Regions from separate parts of the Homo sapiens genome. Here region 2 is linked to region 1. The links are contacts of gene promoters, found by promoter capture Hi-C in blood cells and fetal thymus (Javierre and others, 2016). All regions are on one chromosome and are shown on one strand. The core of a region is centred on a gene start or on the middle of the fragment in contact, and the rest is flanking DNA. Distances in the headings are between cores, read along the strand shown.

What was found. Contacts are between HindIII fragments. The CHiCAGO score rates a contact against its expected background, and 5 or more counts as called.
Region 2: a contact is called between a fragment that was not itself captured here and the fragment with the promoter of PRELID2 in region 1, in 1 of 17 cell types (M0 macrophages). The highest score is 5.8, in M0 macrophages.

The regions. Positions count from the first base shown.
Region 1 is chr5:145,834,092-145,838,520 of GRCh38, forward strand. PRELID2 (PRELI domain containing 2) reads right to left here and starts at 1,251. Exons shown (of 7, transcript NM_205846.3): 1 at 1,086-1,251. The coding sequence starts at 1,160. RefSeq lists a silencer at 1,443-1,562. The HindIII fragment of the contact is 2,489 bases long and covers 1-1,490 here.
Region 2 is chr5:146,059,020-146,063,734 of GRCh38, forward strand. It overlaps SH3RF2 (SH3 domain containing ring finger 2), which reads left to right. Exons shown (of 10, transcript NM_152550.4): 9 at 847-1,205; 10 at 3,407-4,273. The coding sequence ends at 3,682. All of the region lies in intron 1 of LOC107986458 (a long non-coding RNA gene), which reads right to left. Among named protein-coding and RNA genes, the nearest start is that of PLAC8L1, 44 kb to the right of the region's middle. The HindIII fragment of the contact is 2,110 bases long and covers 322-2,431 here.

The DNA.
Region 1 (4,429 bases), core at 1-2,500:
TCAGTATTGAGGAAGAGTTCATTATCTGTATTGAAATCGGTTGTAGTAATACAAACAACAATAACATTTTAGAGCCCTAACTAAACATCAGTAGCAGTGAGAAAAAGAAAAATAGCTCAGAGCAGATTGTGTGAGTTACAGTGAAATATGCAAAATCAATCAAGCCCAGAGAGACAAGAGTATAGGACTTTAGTGGTCCCCTCCTCACCCAACCCATTCCTGGGAGCAACTGGTTAAAGGCATTTTGTTCCTGACCAGCTGCCTTACCCATTATCTTCAAGTTCCTGGAATTTGTGATACAAAGAACAATGTACAGACAATCAATAGTTTATGTTATTTTAATATAAATTCTTGGTAAACAACTTAGGAAGTGCTTCTTATTCTCCTTTAAAAACCCACTTTCGACTTCTGCTCATCAGAATGTATACTCAGGGCACCTTCACTCCCAGGATGCAGCCCTCAAACTTGGCTCGAATGAACTCTCTTTTTATATTGATTTTGCCTCAGTTTCTTCATTTAGGTCACAACTGTGCTAAGCACTTTACACAAGTTACCTCATTTGGATCCTCACAACAACTCTATGAGTCGGTACTATTATTTTCCCCATTTTACAGATTAGCAAACTAAGGCACAAAGAGAGTAAGCAACCTGCACGATGTCCCACAGCTGTTTAATAAGGAGCAGCGGATGGGGCAGCAGAACCATCATGCTGAGTAAACCAGGATGACTGCCCAATGGCCTCCCCTCGCTTTTAAGGGGTCAGTGATGAACCGGAAAGCTCCACACGTCGGTCATCTGCAACTCCACGGAGCTCACGAGCTGGGATTCCCGGAGGCTCTTCCTAAAAGGAAAGCCTCTTCTTTCAGCTGGGGCAGGTGTGAACGTGATGCCAAGCACGGCCCCTTTTCCCGCTCCCTGTAAAGGGAGTCTTCGAGGAAATCCCTCTCGACCCACACATCCCTGAAGCAAAGCCCGCAGCTGGAAAGAGACACTGGCGGTGCCAGCTTCCGCGTGGATGAAGGAGAGGAGAGAGGGGCAAGCAGCGGAGGCAGCGCGGGATACGGAAGGTGGAAGCGGGGCGGTACCTTTCGGAGAAAGCTGGCGACCACCTGCTCGAAGGGGTACTTGTACACCTGGTGCACATCCACCGAGACCCCCATCCCCGCGCGCCGCGGGCCCCGCGCACCGGCCACGCCTCCGCGAGCTCAGAGCTGCCCAGGGCTCCGCAGAGGCCCGGAGGCGCCCACACTCGGACAGCCACATGGGCGTGGCCTTTTTCCTCCGCTTTTCAAACTTTCGAAACTTTATTGGCCACTCGGAGAAACGCGCAGTCGGCCACGCCCACGCCCCTACTGCCAGAGTCCGGGGCCTGGGGTTACAGAGCGCGGGAGGCGCTGGAGCGCTCCCAGAGCACCCGGGGCCCCGCGGTCTCCACGCTGGCGGCGCCAGAGCGGCCCTGGTGCCCTCCCGCGGCCGCGCCTGCCGAGAAAAGCTTCTCTGCCTGGGAGCCATCACGCCCCGCCCCAGGAAACCTGGACCTTGGGCTTATGCGTTTATGGTATCACCGCCTGGAGTCACAGAATAAGCCGTGGTTGGCAGCACGGGAAAAAAGTATTAATAAGGAAGGCCTGGTGTGACAAAGGCCAGCATTACTCATGCCACCAGGCAGCTGCCTCTGAGGCTTGGGTTTGGGCCTCGTGTAAGGTAAAGATTGCCTCGGGAATAAGAACCGCGTTTTAGTGCACCAAAACCTGCAGGTAAGTTCCTTTGCTCGCTAAGGTTAAACACCACGGAGCAAGGAACTAGAGGATACAAAAGAGTTGCGAGTATTATTATTTACTGCAACCAACAGATGTTAGGAGAACCAGCACGTTAATCCGTGTATTCAGCACGGTTCTGAGGCCTCCTATGCCCCAGCGCTGTAGTGGGCACTGCGGATTCCGCAGGGAGGAAACACCAGCTCTGCTGATGAGCCGGCTGATTTCACACCCAATCAACAAGCTGGGAAAATAAAAACAATAATCGGTTAAAGTGACACGGGCGCGGACATGATTTTAGTGAGGGTGATTATGGAGGGTCTCTGAGGTGATGACTTTTACGATTTTGCCATCTCGCTCGCCCCTGCCATACGCAGTCACACTGGTCTGGCAAAACCCTAGCCTTGTGTAAATCTAGGTCTCCTCTGACTGTCTCTACCCAAGCCACCAGAAGGGGCTGAAGGAAAATACACACCCACTGTGCATCTTTTAAGTTCATAACCACTAACCCTATGGCGCCTTTTAATGGTGCCAGACAAATACACTATGAAAGTACTGTATTTCTGGCTGGGTGCGGTGACTCACGCCTGTAATCCCAGCACTTTGGGAGGCCAAGGTGGGCGGATCGCCTGAGGTCCGGAGTTCCAGACCAGCCTGGCCAACATGGTGAAACCCTGTCCCTACTAAAAATACAAAAATTAGCCAGGCGTGATGGCGGGCGCCTGTAGTCCCAGCTACTCCGGAGGCTGAGGCAGGAGAATCGCTTGAACCCGGGAGACGGAGGTTGCAGTGAGCAGAGCTCGCCCATTGCACTCCAGCCTAGGCGACAAGAGCAAGACTCCATCTCAAAAAAAAAAAAAAAAGAGAGTACTGAATTTCTCTAATCCACTTACTCTCCCGCATTCCTCCACACCTCTGACACCTTTGTTCCCAGCCTTATACTCCAGTCATTACCTTACTTCCATTTTCACTTAGTCAATAGGTCACATCGCTCTGCCACCTCTCTACCCACCAGACCAAATGCCTTGCCTTCACTCTTGTTCCTGTGGGTGAACTGTCAGCACTTTGTTTTAGCACCAGTGTCTCCATTTGTCCACTGAATCCTGAGGTGAACTGAAAAATGTTTAACAAATAGCTGTCCTTTAAAGTATAAATCAAGCAAGGCCCTGATTTCCAAAGGTTGCTGATTCCTGTGGTGTAAATACTCCTACCATGTTTAAAGATGCCAACTCGATGTCACTAAACACAAGTTGGGGATTTAGCAACATGGAGTTGAGTGAGGAGTGGGAGTTGGGGAGGGAAGCACAGAAGCACACCATCACATAGTATTTCCACCACCCACATACGACAGCCATAAAGAACCAAAAACATAAATAATGGAAAATGTAGCAGGAAGGGATGAGTTTTCAATGTTTATTACTCTTTGGCCAGGCTCCTATGGTTCATGCCTGTAACCTCAGCACTTTGGGAGGCCAAGGCAGAAGGATCACTTGAGGCCAAGAGTTTGAGGCCAGTGTAGGCAACATAGTGAAACCCCATCTCTACAAAAAATAAAATAAAAAATTAGCCAGGTGTGGCAGTGCACACCTGTAGTCCTAGCTACTTGAGAGGCTAAGGCCAGAGGCTCTATTAAATCCGGAAGTTCAAGGCTGTAGTGAACTATGATCGTGCCATGCACTCCAGCCTGGGCCACAGAGTGAGACCCATCTCAAATAAATAAATATTTATTAATTTTTATATGTGATTGTAAATTTATATACTTTAATAATAGCTGTGTTGAATGGCCAGCTCTAGTACATCACTAAAAGTTCCTGTCCTCTTTCTTGTTCAAGGCCATCTCTCTAGCAATATCCCCCTTCCTTTCTGTATCATCAGCTTTTGTCTCTACTGGGCCATTCCAGCCAGCACAACAAGTACACTGTAATTTCTTCCATCTAAAAACAAAAACAGAAACAATACAAAAAAAACAACTCTTAACCCCCTATCTTCCTCCAGCTGTATTCCGAGTCTCTGGTCCACTGATGCTCCTCAAAAGAGCTGCCTGTAATCTCTTGAGCCCATTCCAATCAGTATTTGCCCCCACCACTTCACCGAAACGACTGTTGTCAAGGTCACCAATGACCAAATTGCTAAATCCAATAATTAATTCTTAATCCCCACCTTACTAAGCCTGTAAGCAGCATTTCCTTGAAATACAGAGGGAGGAGTGGAGAGGAGAATGAGATGCAAATGCTCTTACATGTGTTGGATGCATGTTTAAAAGCCACTCCACTATATCACCAATCCCTCCTTACAGGAAAACAAAAAGCAGTCTTCCAGGGAGACTACACAGGTCCACAAAGGAGAGATCAATTACCTGCAGAGTTTATGGTATTTTGTATCTGCCTCTTTTACCAGAGTAGCTGGAGACCAGATGTGACATACAAACCCCCTGCTAGCGTAGGTCCTGGGCCCTGTATCCTCAATCCACTCTGACCATCAGTTTCTCCCAGAGTGTATCTTTAAGCAGGACTTAATCTCCGGATTAAGTAACCATGAAAGGCCAATGGTGTGTCCTGAAAGATTAAAGGCCCCACCACCTGCAACCTCTACTTGGGGCTGGTTGGCTGAGTGACTTGTGTAAGAACAAATGTGACCTGCCCATTCCAAGGACGTTGGGGCTTTCTGAAACG
Region 2 (4,715 bases), core at 127-2,626, 230 kb after region 1:
TATCCTGATACTTTGCACACCAAATAGAATGCAATCCTCACAGCAGCCCAATGATGTACTGTTATTATCTCCAGCTTACAAACGAGAGAACTGAGGTGCAGAGAGGTGACGTGACTTAACTCATCCCAGGCTTTCCAGGAGGAGGTCTGATTCCAGATCCTCTGTCATGAGACATTGCAAAGCCCATCCTCACAGCCCTAACTGTGGAATAACCTTTCCAAATTTGCCTTTGTCTGCTGTTGTGCTTGCCTAGCCCTTGCCACTCACCCTTTCTCCCTGCAGCCCCCGACAAAAAGCAACCCCCACCTGCCACATGCCTAAAGCTTCTGTCAAGATTTTCACAGCAAGTCGCTGGGCAGAGTTTTCCTCTCTCCTCCTCTCTTTCTCCTTTTCCTCTCTCTCATTCTTCTCGGTTGCCTCTCCTTTGTGTTTCTCAATGTCTTCTATTTCCTATCTCTGATTCTGTCATGTGTTTCCTATTTGGTCTGACTGCCTCTGTGTCTGCTTCACGCGCGCGTGTGTGTGTGTACGTGTGTGTGTGCGTGTGTGTGTGTGTATCACAAGGCAAATGGAAGCAATATACCTTCTGACAGCCCCCCTACACACATACACACATACACACTCACACACACCATTCAGCCAGAGAGATATTTGCTGCCAGCATCAGCAAACAGCACTAAAAAAAGAATAAGGTCACCTTTGAAAGACCCGGAGAGAATGTGAGTGCAGTCAGATTAGGAAAGCGCTTGTCTATTCTGGGATATCAGGAAGCACTGCTTACCCAGCCCCACCCAACCTACTGCCAGCCGCCCCTGCTGCTGATCTCTCTGTCCTATAATTCCCCAGATGGATCCCTGCAGAGACCCCTCCAGTCCGGGATCCCCACTCTCGTGGTAGGCTCCCTCAGACGCAGCCCCACCATGGTCCTTCGGCCTCAGCAGTTCCAATTCTACCAGCCACAGGGGATCCCCTCCTCCCCCTCAGCCGTGGTGGTGGAGATGGGGTCCAAGCCTGCCCTCACGGGGGAGCCCGCCCTCACGTGCATCAGCAGGGGCAGTGAGGCCTGGATCCACTCCGCGGCCAGCTCCCTCATTATGGAAGACAAAGAAATCCCCATCAAGAGTGAGCCTCTGCCAAAACCGCCCGCATCTGCCCCACCATCCATCCTGGTGAAACCAGAAAACTCAAGAAATGGCATCGAAAAGGTAGGATCAGAGTGACATTGGGGGCCCAACTCTTTCGATCCCGTACTATGCATAGTGTCTCAGCTCAGAGATTTTAGTGTTGGTGAACAAGGAACCAAAATTGCAGCCTCGAAAGAATCCTCACACATAACACTCCTCCTCCCCAACTCCCCACTGAGCCATGGCCAACATCCCCAACATCACCCACGCCCTCCCTACATGTGTTACTGATTCGCCTTTATGTTTCCTGAATATTTTATACATCTTTTGAGGCCCAAAAGTGGCTTGAAAAAAAAGCATGACTTTGGCATTAGATGAATCTTGCTTTGAATTCTAGCTTTGCTGCTTGCTAGCTGGGTGACTTTGGTCAAAATACTTCACCCTTCTGAGTCACTTAGTTTGCATAATCTGTAAAATGGAGGTAGAAAGAGTAATGGCCACACAGTAATGGAGTGGAGATTAAACGAGATATGTGAAGTGCTTACATAGGGTTTGACACATAATTATGCATTGTATAAAAGGGGCAACTGAGGCACAGGATAATGTAAGTGACATCGAGGTCACACTGAATGATAATGACTCCAACTACCTTATTGTGACCTCTGTGGCAGACGTCAGATCTGTTAACTTCTAGTCCAGGATATTTCCCACTAGAAGACGTGAGAGTTTTTGTAAAAGGCTTATGTTCTCAATAATATCCTTGAAGCAGGAGGAATAGTGGGAAGAGAGGACAGTAAGAAAGTTAGGTGATGCTTATTGCTGTCTTAATTTATGAACATCACCATCATCACATCATCGCCATCACCACCTCCATCACCACCGCCATCAGCATCATTCCACCATCATCGTCCATTCCCCTCAGAACGGAAAGAGGATGCGATTCCCCCATTGGTTAACCAGTTATCGAATACTAACAAGCTGGCAGGCACTGTGCTGAGTACTTCATGTGTCCCATATATTTAATCCTGACAACAACCCTCTCAAATAGGCATTAGTTTCATCCTCATTTTAAAATTAGGAAATGGCAGCTCAGGGAGTTAAAGAACATTACCCAAGACCGCACAGTTGACACATACGTGTGGAGTAGAATCCAGATCTGATGCAAAACTCATGCTCTTACTGCTAAGCTATCAGCTCATAGGGAAAGGTATTGGAAAAAGCACTGACATATATAAAGGTTGGGAGTTCTTATTCTGAATTATAGAAATAATTCAGAGTTTTCTAGGCCCCAGTTGCCCATTACTCCAAGCTTTTAGATACAACTATAAGCATTTCATAAATGCCCAGACCTTGGCTAGATATTAGGAGGATCAGAACGTATGAAGAAACTCAGATCTTAGTGGGGGATACTAGGGTTGCATTACATGGAAGAAAGACATCATTCCTGAGCAGTACCACAGAACGCTTTATTAGGCCCTGAGATAGAGACTGGCTAAAGCAAATACTGTACCTATGGGTGCCTAGCAGATATATAACAGGCTAGGAGATGTGAAAGGAAAGAGGAAGAGGGGGAATTGGCATAAACTGGAGACCTTGCATCTCATATAAAGGGGGCACTGCTTCTCAGGTCCAGCCAGCTGTTGTCAGAATGAGCCATAGGCCCAGTGCGTCAGAGCTTTGATTTTTTTTTTAAGAGACATATGAAATTCTGATTTTTATATGCAATCTCCCAATTTTTATGTGTTGGCGAGTCGATCAAACCCTCAAACATTCTGCAGGCTAAATTCAGCCAGCAGGTGTCCAGTTTGCAAACTGTGCTCTAAGGATTTATAAGGCCATTATGGAAATCTCTAAATGGAGTCATCAGGAGAGTGGCCTCAAAGAAAAGGAAAAACTTGAGATTGGCCTTAATAGTACGTAGAGAGGAGAGAGGCAAGGTAAATTTCTTTAATCTTCCAGAAGGGATCATACCCTCTTGCCTCAGGCTGTTTTTATAGGCGGCGGCCTACCCTATTTCTCCCAGATAAGTCCTAATCCTTTTGTGGTTCTCAATTTAAAGCTTCTGGGAAGACTTCCCTGGCTTCTCCACTTCCAGCTGAAGTTAGATGCTCCTCTGCATTCTCAGCATCTTGTACTTCCCCCATCTTAGCACTTGACACTCATGGTAGCCACAGATATTTGCAGAATGAACACATAAATGAGACATTTCAAGTGGGGACAAGCATGGGGAAATAGACATCTCCCACCTCACCTGTGTCCATTTCCTCTCCTTTCTCTTGCAGCAAGTCAAAACCGTGAGATTTCAGAATTACAGCCCTCCTCCCACCAAACATTACACCTCCCATCCCACCTCCGGAAAGCCTGAACAGCCAGCCACCCTCAAGGCGTCCCAGCCTGAAGCAGCGTCCTTGGGCCCAGAGATGACCGTCCTATTTGCCCACCGAAGTGGCTGCCACTCCGGACAGCAGACAGACCTCCGGAGAAAGTCAGCTCTTGGCAAGGCCACAACCCTGGTGTCCACTGCCTCAGGCACGCAGACCGTGTTTCCCAGCAAATGAACCTACGGGTGGCTTTTCCTAGACCCCAAAGAGGTGAATTGCATTTAAATACAGTCTGCCTCCACTGAGGGCATCCTGCCATTCTTTGGGGACTTGAGCATGGGTCCTTGTTCTTCCTATTTCACCTCCAGGAAAGCAAAAGTGGGAGCAGAAATTCCTGCCCTGGGTGGGAGGATAGATGGCGTGGCCTTCCAAACATACAAACATAATGATTTGATGCCACAAAGCTCGCTTACTCAGACCAAGGAGTGAAAAATTGTCGTGCCCACTTTATGCCCCAGCATGGAGTATGTGGCCTCTTGTCATCCCCGTGTTACTGTGTAGAATTTCTATGGTGTCCTAAAGGGGGCTGCAGCAGGGGTGTGACAACGGTGGGATTGTTGGCGTTGCTTCTTTGACCTTACAATATCCTCAACAAGCATTAGAACAACTTCTGCCATCTTCTGGGGCCTGTACACTGGCCACTAGTAGCTGCCATATCTTTTTCCCTCTGTAAAGTCATAATCCTGGCTGCAAAGGGAGGATTTCTGCGCGGGGTGTGAGGTGGATACTTTGAACATTCTGAGAACCCAATAAAACTAGAAGGAGCCAGCTTCCTGAGTATGCTCCACTTAAGAAGGTCAGAGAGATCACTGAGTACCAAATATCAAAGGATTATCATACTTTAAGCTTCTCGATCCATTTTCCCACATATAATCCTATGCAATAGATAAGCAGAAAGCATGTGGCTGTGGATAGGGCCATGTATGGCATTATGGACAATTAATTCATCCTGGCTCTACAGTCTGACTTCAAGAAAACACAGCGTGCTTACAAACAATCTTATATGGGGTTAGGGTTTAGATATATAGTCTGACTTCAAGAAAGCACAACGTGGGCCAGGTGCAGTGGCTCATGCCTATAATCCTGGCACTTTGGTAGGCCGAGGTGGGCAGACCACTTGAGGTCAGGAGTTTGAGACCAGCCTGGCCAACATGATCAAACCCCATCTCTACTAAAAATACAAAAATTAGCCAGGCATGATGGCGCACAC